3 separate regions of the Homo sapiens genome follow, and all the other regions are linked to region 1. The links are contacts of gene promoters, found by promoter capture Hi-C in blood cells and fetal thymus (Javierre and others, 2016). All regions are on one chromosome and are shown on one strand. The core of a region is centred on a gene start or on the middle of the fragment in contact, and the rest is flanking DNA. Distances in the headings are between cores, read along the strand shown.

Region 1 (3,462 bases), core at 642-3,141:
AAAAAAAAATCCTAGGATATAATGAGGTATACAGCACAAAACTGGCTGGCTGAACTCCTCAGTGACTCCCCTGCATTCACCTTCAGAATTTCTCTCTACTCCTGGCAAAAAGTGAGCAAACAACACAAACCCAAAAACCTATTTTGTACGTGTATGTGAAATGTGCACACCACAGTGCAAATATGTGATAGTTTTTAAATGTGCACGATTGGCAGTTAGGAAATGTCACTGTAATCGTTAGGTGAAACTTCAATCCCTTTGATGAAGATACCATCTTTGAGCCAAGCCCTGACAGAAAACCTTTGGTTCCTGTTAGACCCCTCCCTCCCCAGTCAGCTGCTGGGCTCCATCCGGAGGGATGGAGGCTCTCTCTCTCCATTACAGCTAAGCGTTCCCAGACCCAGCAGAAACCCTGGGTTCCTGCAGAGCACTCAACGTGCAGCAAAGTGTCCCAGCTCTGCAAAGGGCAGCTGGAAATGGATTTAAAATGGCAACGCGGACCAATCAGCGCTGCCGCGCCAAAGCAGACATTTACACGCGCCTCCTCCACATGCACAGCGGAACCTGGCGGTGCCTAACTCCTGCTTAGGGCTGCAAAGTAGGCGTTTTTATTCCACGGTGGTCTGTATCTTTGAAAAAAATAAATTCTTCCCCAGGTGAAAGTTTTTATTTTGGAATTAGTCCAAAATAATTTTGGGTGTGATGTGTGAAAATCTGAACCTAATTTTTTCAGAGTTTTGTGTTATTCAAGGATGAAAAGAGGTACATTTAAAAATGTACTCCACCTTTTAAAAACGGACTGTGGCCATTATGGTGTTCACATAACTCAGAACAGCCCAGGCCATAAAATTAGGACTTGGCAGAAAGAGAGTTCTCAGGCAGAAGGTTAAATCGAGGTAAACTGAAGGGAGAGTTGGGCAGTGAGTGCAATTGTGGTGTTAGGAATCTACAAGGTGCCCTTTACCCTGGGAACATCGGATTCCCGGGGAGGGGGATGGGGAGGGAACTTCGGTTGCCTCTAGTCTTTCCTGGAGAAAAAAGTTCAATGAAGAAGCTGGGGCGCTCTGTGTGTGCACATTGTTTGCATGTGTCTGCGAATGTGCATGTCTATCTGCGTGCCTGTGTGTATGTGTGTGTGTGTAAATGCGGGTGTTTACCAGCGCATGAATGCCCCCGTGTCCACGTGTATCTGCGTGCATGTGCTTACACGCGTGTTCGTGTGTATCTGCATGCATGTCTCCGTGTATGTGCGCGCTCGCCCGCCCGCAGGCTCTGTGGTGAGGGCATTCCGAGGCGGAGTACGGCTGTCAGGGGACCTCTCCCACTCCACTGCAGTCCCTTCCCACTCACAGTGAACCGGTGCGCTGCCTGAGGTGCAGCCTAGACGCTTCCTGCAAAGTGTTGGCTCGGCACGGTAGAGGCGCAGGTAAAGGCCAAGCCCCGAAACGTGGCTCCGGGACAGTCACGTTCCCGCGCCTTCCCAGGACAACTGCCCAGGGGTGACCTCGAGAGGCGGGTGGAGCTAGGCCCACGGCGAGCCAGCCCGGGATCCCCGGCCTGTCCCTTTAACCCCGCCGCCGGGCGGGAGCACGTGAGCGGGGCTCCGGGTGGCACCCGGGCGCCGCCGCCGCCGAGGCAGTTGTATTTCGAACGCTGCCTCTGGCTAGCAGCCAGGCGCCTTGGCTCGGCGGTCCGCCTGGCCTCCCTCCTCCTCATACTTTTCTTCCTGCGCAACCCCCTCCCCTTTATCCGCCCACGATTAGAGGTGGGCACTCCCCCCACCACCACCCCCTCCCCAAGCGCAAGCGCGTGCACGCACACACACCACACACACTCACACTCACACACACTCACACACACTCATCCCACTTGAATCTTGGGGCAGGAACTCAGAAAACTTCCAGCCCGGGCAGCGCGCGCTTGGTGCAAGACTCAGGAGCTAGCAGCCCGTCCCCCTCCGACTCTCCGGTGCCGCCGCTGCCTGCTCCCGCCACCCTAGGAGGCGCGGTGCCACCCACTACTCTGTCCTCTGCCTGTGCTCCGTGCCCGACCCTATCCCGGCGGAGTCTCCCCATCCTCCTTTGCTTTCCGACTGCCCAAGGCACTTTCAATCTCAATCTCTTCTCTCTCTCTCTCTCTCTCTCTCTCTCTCTCTCTCTCTCTCTCTCTCTCTCTCTCGCAGGGTGGGGGGAAGAGGAGGAGGAATTCTTTCCCCGCCTAACATTTCAAGGGACACAATTCACTCCAAGTCTCTTCCCTTTCCAAGCCGCTTCCGAAGTGCTCCCGGTGCCCGCAACTCCTGATCCCAACCCGCGAGAGGAGCCTCTGCGACCTCAAAGCCTCTCTTCCTTCTCCCTCGCTTCCCTCCTCCTCTTGCTACCTCCACCTCCACCGCCACCTCCACCTCCGGCACCCACCCACCGCCGCCGCCGCCACCGGCAGCGCCTCCTCCTCTCCTCCTCCTCCTCCCCTCTTCTCTTTTTGGCAGCCGCTGGACGTCCGGTGTTGATGGTGGCAGCGGCGGCAGCCTAAGCAACAGCAGCCCTCGCAGCCCGCCAGCTCGCGCTCGCCCCGCCGGCGTCCCCAGCCCTATCACCTCATCTCCCGAAAGGTGCTGGGCAGCTCCGGGGCGGTCGAGGCGAAGCGGCTGCAGCGGCGGTAGCGGCGGCGGGAGGCAGGATGAGCGCACGCGGTGAGGGCGCGGGGCAGCCGTCCACTTCAGCCCAGGGACAACCTGCCGCCCCAGCGCCTCAGAAGAGAGGACGCGGCCGCCCCAGGAAGCAGCAGCAAGTCAGTACGAGGGCGCGGTGGGGGCACCAGCCCACCCCGTCCCCACTGCCGGGGCCCAGACACGCGCGGGGCGGCCGGAGTGCGGGAGCCCAGTCGCCGCGGCCGTCGCACACTGCCCGCCGGCCGGCCGGGGGGAGCGGCGCAGACCCCACGAGTGCGCCGCGCGGCCCCGGGGCGCCAGCAACCCTCCGGGCGGGGAGGTGGGGAGCCGCGGCGGGCGGCCCGGGGAAGGCGGGAGGTGGGGTCGGGCGAAGCGCGTCCTCGGACTTTCGCTATTGTGCACGGCCCCGAGTGGCGCGGTGTCGCCCAGTGACTGGAAGCGACCGGGATCCGACAAACCCGGGCTCGCAGGCGCTTTCCGAGTTGCTTTTGCAACTGCCCGGGAGGAAGGAGGTGCCGGGGACCCGGGCGCTTCGGCCGATCTGGGCTGAAGGGGCTAGAGTCTTGGGGGCCGGAGGCTCTTTCTCCCGCCTCCCGGGGCTGCTCGCGGGTCGGGGGCTGGCGCGCCGCAGCCGCCCCCTTGGCGCCCTCCTCCAAGCTCTCGGTGGCCCAAGACTCGCGCCCTCCCGACAAAGAACGCATGGAGACCCGGCTGCCTGGTCCTTTTTGGGCTCTTTAAATATGCGGCGGCCGCCGGAGGGAGCCCGGGGCAGGGGCTACGGGGAGCCTGGT
Region 2 (3,462 bases), core at 514-3,013, 940 kb before region 1:
AAGAGGTTCTTATTCAACAACAATATTTGTTTAAAGGCTTGCCAAAAACACAAAACAAAGCCTTAAACCCCAAACCTTTAATAGTATAAAAATAACAAGGCTTAAGTCATAAACATTGGATTTCCAGAATTTAAAAAGATAATTTTTGAAAAAGGAATTACATCAAGAAAATTTTTTTTGAATTGACTGTCTTCTAAAACAAATTAAAAAAACAAAAACAAGAAAAGCAATTAAAAAAAACAGTTGCTAATGTTCAATCCGGAGAAATGGATGGATTCCAGTATTTTATTCACAAACAAGCTTCATCCAAATGGCAGAACAACAGGGGTCTGGCTTCTGCATGGCTCAGGCCTGAGTTTCTGAACCGGAGGGTATATGGTGAGGTTGGGATTAAGGGTTTTCCTGCCTCATTTAATTAGGGCCTAGTCACAGTTGCACCAGCAGTTGTTTTCACATCCAATTCTGTTGGCCTTATAGTCTGGGAAAATTCTCCCAACTCCAACAATGAACTGACTTGGAACTTGAGACTCTGCGGTGCTGATATTGACATCAGAAAATCTGGACACTGCTCCAGGGTTCTTTCATAAAGTCCGAGAGGTCATACTATTTTCATAGCAACATCAGGGCGTGATTTGCCTTTTTCACTCCCATTTTCTCACAAGTATACAAGGAGGTTTTCAGAGGCTGCATAATGTGTGATATCACAACAGCTTGAATGCAGGAGCAGATAGGAGAACCCAGCTGTCTTCTATTAAACCACATAGGAAAGAGATTTGCAAAAATGTAAAGCAATACTGCTCTTTCACCAAATATTTTTGTTTTGGAAAATGTGGTTATTTTTCATAGAATCTTATTTATGATAATGGATTTATTGTATTTTTAAAAGAATTAAAATATTTTGACTTTACTTATAATACACTAAATAAAAGATATCATGTATAAGCTCTTTAGGGTCCTCATAATTTTTGAGAGCTTATGTTAAGTTTAAATCTTGTCTAAAGAGGTTTAGAGACCATAAATTTTGAGAATTATGAGTCTATGGGATAGTGAAGGAAGATAAACACAAAATAACAATTAATATTTATTGAGTGCTTCCTGTTTGACAGGCACTGTGCTAAGAGCCTTACATGGATTGCCTCCTTTAATTCTCATAACCACCCCTCAGAGTAAATACCAGTGTTTCTTCTTTTATTTTTAAGAGACAGGGTCTCACTTTTCCACGCAGGCTGAAGTGCAGTGGCACAATCATAGCTCGGTGTAATCTTGAACTCCTGGGCTCAAGTGATCCTCCTGCCTTGGCCTCCCAAAATGCTGGGACTACAGGCGCGTGCCACCACGCCTGGCTTTAGTGTTCCTTCTTCTGCAATAGATGAGGAAACTGGAGCTTGGAGAGGATGTTACTTTCTCAAGGTCATAGAGCCAGAGAGTGGCAGAGGATGAAATTGAACCTGGGTGTGTGGCTGTAGCTCCCTTATTCTTAACCACTTGGTGACGGTCCTTCTAAAAGCCTGTCCCCCCAACCCCCAAACCACTGCACTAATGTGATGTAATGGAAGATTGTGATCTGGGAGGCAACGGGAGAGGATATTGTACTACAGACACTCAGAAAATCTTTCTCTCTCAGAGTCAGGGTTGGACTGGAACAACTGCTGGCCTCTCATGGTGTGTGCACACCACATGGGCAACTAGATCCTAAAATACAGTGACCCACACTGGTGTCCCTCCTCTTTTAAGTTGCTTTGGGAACAAAAGGGCCATGATTATTAAAAAGTCATAGTTTTGCAGGAAATGGAAGCCAAGACCCATTAACAGGGGTACAGCTAATGGGCATGGTGTATGAAAGAGGCAAGGGCCGCTTGGCATTGTTTTTCACTCTTAGATAAAGCCGGAAAGGACGTCAGAACAATGGCATGTTTTAGCCTAAAGAGAAAAAAAAGTATGTTTCTAATCTGAGGGAAAAATGATGGTGTGTTAAAGAATATGAATTAGTGGATGCTAAAGAGGTCTGTTATTACTCACAAGGGCTAATATTCACACAGAATTGAATTTGACTAGGCTGGCAGAAAAACTTCCAAATATTCCTTTCTGTCCAATGCAGGGATCAGGCATTATCGCCCCAAGGCAGATTTGCCTTAATTGGGCATACATTTGCGAACATTAGCATAATGCCTTTCCATTTCTTCTATTATCTTAACAAATTGCTTTACATTGGCTCTCCTATTGCCTTATCTTTCTTGCCAATAGCACTTGATGGCCCAGTGAAAGGCACTTGGACTTCCCTAAAGATATGCAAACTTCATTAGCCTTGGTTCTTTAAAGGTGTTAGGCTACGCTTTCAAGTCAAAAGTCTGGGATAGTGTCAAGGGATAGGGTGGACTGTCAGAGTAAGAGACACCATGGGTTTGCTGCTTGGCTTCCTTAGTTAACACACTGTGTTTTGCCATGTGAAGGGAGAACTGACAAGGTATTTGGGAACTGAAAAATCGTAGTTACAACTGAGTTCACAAAACTCTGAGCTGGAGTTGGACATGACATTACGGCTTCTCCTGGTAGACGACCTGTGTTCCTCAAGGTCTCCCAAAGGCATGACTAACCACTCTCCTCGGTGTTATCCCGATTCTCCAGTGAGCCATGACCTCATATTATTGACACTAAGAGCAATGTTCTCAGGCCAGGATGGGATTCTGGAGCTTCACAGACCAGTAAAGTCACATTCCTTCCCTCACGGAGTTTAAAGTCCCGCAGGGAAGGACAGTTGGGTGAACGAAAGGCAAACACCAAATGGTAAATGCACACTTGGGAGCTTCCTCTTCTTTGAGATAAGAAGGAAGGCTGAAGAAACAGGAATGTTGAGAAGCTGGTGTGGGGAAGTACAGCAGGTAGAGGTGGGAGAGAGTGACGGAATCTCTACTCCATTTGAACAGGAGATGGGAGTTTGGGCTGTAAGTGAAGGAGGTGGGGGAAATTGCGCTGCAGGAAAGAGAGAGAGAGGTGAAATGAAATAATTGCAGTGGACGTTGGAAATTTAAATCAGATTTAAAAATACTCCTGCCCCCTGGCTTAGGAAAAAAATGAACATAGGTAAGCCTTATCGAAATAAACATCTTCCTTCCATTTCATTTGTTCCTGTTTATGTTTGGAGGATTTGTATTTGATCAGATAGTTAATAAACAGATGAAATATGAGTACAAAGAGAAAGAGTTGCCGTTCCTATAAAATCTAAGATGAAAGCTTTGGAAAGGCTCGATAAAACTGAGTTACCAAAAAAGCATCATTGAATAAAAGGTGAGAGAGACAACTATAAGAGAAAAAAAATCATAAAAATCAGCGGAGGGAATTTTGTTTCACAAGTGTCTTAAGGTTCTCACCATATAATAAGCAAACGCTGGGCACTGTATATGATGTACAATGGTTTGGTTTGTGCAACAGAGACTAGCAGCAACTTGGTGGATCTGCATTCAG
Region 3 (3,462 bases), core at 353-2,852, 520 kb before region 1:
TTTATAAGAGGAGGACACTGATACCCTGAGTCTTTCCTCCACCTTTCTTTCCAGCCTTCTTTACATTTTGTTGCTATATAGTTTTTGTTTCACAATGTGAACTTGCTAATGCTTACAGTCTGTTCTGAAATCACAGTCAAATATTTGTCCATAGGTTGTCTCTAAAAGCTTATATTGTTATGACTATGTGCACATCGATTACTTCCAGGTCACAATGTGAGCTATTAATGTGGTTCCTTCTCATTAGTTCCAGGGTCATGATCTCAGCTGTTGAAAGAAACAGACATTTTTCTATCATCATGGCAAATGGATTGATTTTCCTTGTATTTGTTGATTGATTTAAAATCAAAAGTTGTATCTGTAAGGTCTGGATTTAGGCATTGACTTGCTAGATCACTAGCTTTCTACAGTGAATGTGCTTAGTGTCCAATAAACTTTCAATTGCTTCAGGAAATAAGATCTTCACATCGTCATTTTATTGTGACCAGAAGCTACTCAGTCACTTTTGCAGCTGAGGAAAATCTTTAGTTTTTGGTGTTGAGACAAGTTTATGAGCTCTGAGTGATCAAAGTCAAGTAGCTGTCTCCTGGCCTTTAATGTGGGAATATGAGAGGGCAGCCGTATCTTCTGACTAAATTAAGAATCTCTTTGGGATATTTAGGATAGAAGGGATGACTAATGAGAGAGAAACTATAGACTTTTGGAAGTGGTCTCACTGTCCTTGGCATTAGACTTCTCATCCTTCCAGACTCTGTTGTTTTCTAAAACAAGGACATCAATCTGGGGGCACAAGGGCCCCTGCCCTTGAGGAGTTTGGAATGTAGTAGAAGAGATTAAAATAAAGTTTAGTTCAAATTCTGGCTCCATAATTTACTGGCCATTTAACCTCAAGCAGGTAATTCTCTAAGCTTCAGTTTCAATTGGAACAAATAGCCCCCAAATCCCAATGGTTTAAAATGCTGAAGGTTTAGTTCTTCTTTGTACTGTTTGTTCACTGTGGTTCAGATGGGAGCTCTGCCCCGTATCTCCTTATCCCAGAATTGTGATTAATGGAGCAGCCACCATCTAATTATAGAACATTGCTGTTCCCTGCTGCAGAGGGAGAGAAAGCCCTGGAGGGTCTCACACCAACAGCTAAGTACTCTGGCTTGGAAGCAATACACATAATCATTTCTGCTCACAATTTATTGCCCAGAGCTAGCCAGCCACATGTTCCTACCCAACCACAAGGGGGCCAGGAAGTGCATTCCTACCACGTGCCTGGAAAATGGAGAGCCAGAAATACTGTGTACAGAGTAATAATGACTACTACCTATAGGAGTACCTAGCTCAGGGTTGATGTGAGGATTAAATGAGGTTACACACATATATACACACACACAGACACACACATACACATACACACAGTACAGGTGCTCAAAAATGATTATTGTTAATCTCATTATAGATGTATACATGCAAATATTAAATAATATATATGGAGACTAAAGGCTTTATTATAAGGTTATAAGACTATCATAACATATACGAAAATGCCTTGTAAATAATAACATACTGTGCAAATGCAAGTTGATATCTAGTAGATGTTAGAAGATAAAGCATTAGAGCTTGGATCAAAGTTGGTGCTAGACCTTTGTATTCATCTATCAAGAAATGATGGTTGAAGTTGTAAGAATAGGTAAAATCTACACGGAAATTTTGGAAAACTTGCATTTCCTACTGTGAGCTTGACAGCTTCTCAATATTTAAAAACTTTTCTGATGAAATCAGTGATGATATTAATGAGTATGGTTTTTTGATACCATGTTACGAAATGTTTCAACATAAGAAAGATCTGTATAACTCGGTGAACCAATGTTTTCCAAAGGAACAGTGCAGGATGTTACAAAATCATGGAAGGTTAGAAGGTCCATTCAAAACGCAAGATAGACCAATGGGTTTTAATGTAACAGTATGAGAATTTCGTTGATATGGTTTCAGACTACCATTTGTTGATCTTCGGTGTGATAACAAAAGAATAAAACATACAATTATCTGAAAAGGTTATTAAAATACTCCTCCACTTTCCAGCTACTTATTTGTGTGAGTCTAGATTTTCTTCACGTATGTACTTCAACCAAAACAACGTATCACAACACATTGATTGCAGGAGCAGAGATGAGGATTCAGTTGTTTTCTATTAAGCTAGATAATAAAAAGAGATTTGCAAAAATATAGAACTCTTTCCATTATACATATATTTTTATTTTGGGTAATATAGTTAATTTTCACTATAAATGTCATTTTTATAAATTATTTAAGCTTTCAGGTTAAAATAAAGTTTTACTATTTTAAGAATAGTCATTTTGTAAATTATTTTTTATTTATTTTTAATGGAGTAAACAAATATCTAAAAAGTTTCTCAGCTGTAATTTTTAATAAGTAAATATTGATATTTATAATCATGTAAACAAAAGGTATTTGGAGCCCTTGATAATTTTGGGGAGTGTAAGGAATCCTGAGATCCAAAAGTTTGAGAATGGGTAACCGTAAAGATATAGAGATGAAAGAATACAAATAAAAAGTCTTCCTTCATACAGCTTCTCTTTGGTACCAAACTCCCATATGTCCCTGCCACTCCCTCTCCTAAAGCTGGAAGCAATTCTCTTTCCTGTGAAATTCTGTAATTCTTAATTTCTACCCCTGTTAACTCATTTAGCTTATGTCCCACTTAATGTTCCCACTTAAGCTAATGTTTTTTAACAGCACAGACTATGTCTTACATCTTTTCATGTTCATCAGCACCTGATACATTGTTTTCCATGTAGTAGGAATTTATATAGATGAATTGAGTAAGTTAAAAAAAATTACCTCTTAAAATCACTTGAAAGATCGAGTAAGCATTCTGAATAGCCAGGATTCTGTTTCTTAAAACAAATACAATCACAAAAGGATCTCTGTTTAACAAAAGGAATGCCAAATTCCAGCCAATGAGCTATGGATTTCAAGCAGTAGCTAAATGGTTGATCAATTCACTCAACAAACGCCAGTTGAGCATAAACTGCTAGGCACTGGGTTGATAAGAACAAAGATTTTTTTATAGAACTTTATAGTAGACACTTAGATTAGTGGTTCTCATGATGAAGTTTCTTCTGTTTATAATAAGATGAAAAAATAGCGACAATGAAACTTCTCCCCCACAAAACTACATATATTCTACTTAAAAGAATGTTTTTTATCTTGAGATCGCTTTCTTAGTTGTTGGTGTCAACATAATCTTTCTTTTCGGATATTATGGTGAGATTAGGGCTTTGAGCCTTTTTTTTTGGTCATTATTTGACAAAACTCAAAACTGTTGGCTCCTACAGTTCTGGGTGTGGTGGAGGGGAGCATTTTACTAGCTTGTGAAAAACCACTGATGTAGACATTCCTTTGGCATTTATTGGGAAGGGATTCGACCTTTAGGTTTGACACTTTAAAACT

What was found. The method cuts DNA at HindIII sites, captures the fragments that hold promoters and counts their contacts. A CHiCAGO score of 5 or more calls a contact.
Region 2: a contact is called between a fragment that was not itself captured here and the fragment with the promoter of HMGA2 in region 1, in 1 of 17 cell types (naive B cells). The highest score is 5.3, in naive B cells.
Region 3: a fragment that was not itself captured here is called in contact with the fragment with the promoter of HMGA2 in region 1 in 2 of 17 cell types (megakaryocytes and endothelial precursors); the score reaches 9.6 in megakaryocytes.

Annotation. Positions count from the first base shown.
Region 1 is chr12:65,822,592-65,826,053 of GRCh38, forward strand. HMGA2 (high mobility group AT-hook 2) reads left to right here and starts at 1,892. Exons shown (of 5, transcript NM_003483.6): 1 at 1,892-2,790. The coding sequence starts at 2,680. It also overlaps the pseudogene RPSAP52. RefSeq lists an enhancer at 3,012-3,462. The HindIII fragment of the contact is 7,944 bases long and covers 1-3,462 here.
Region 2 is chr12:64,887,347-64,890,808 of GRCh38, forward strand. All of the region lies in intron 1 of LINC02389 (long intergenic non-protein coding RNA 2389), which reads left to right. Among named protein-coding and RNA genes, the nearest start is that of LINC02389, 5.3 kb to the left of the region's middle. RefSeq lists enhancers at 1,507-2,149, 2,150-2,791. The HindIII fragment of the contact is 2,931 bases long and covers 299-3,229 here.
Region 3 is chr12:65,299,725-65,303,186 of GRCh38, forward strand. The region is part of intron 1 of MSRB3 (methionine sulfoxide reductase B3); the gene reads left to right. Among named protein-coding and RNA genes, the nearest start is that of MSRB3, 23 kb to the left of the region's middle. The HindIII fragment of the contact is 1,393 bases long and covers 907-2,299 here.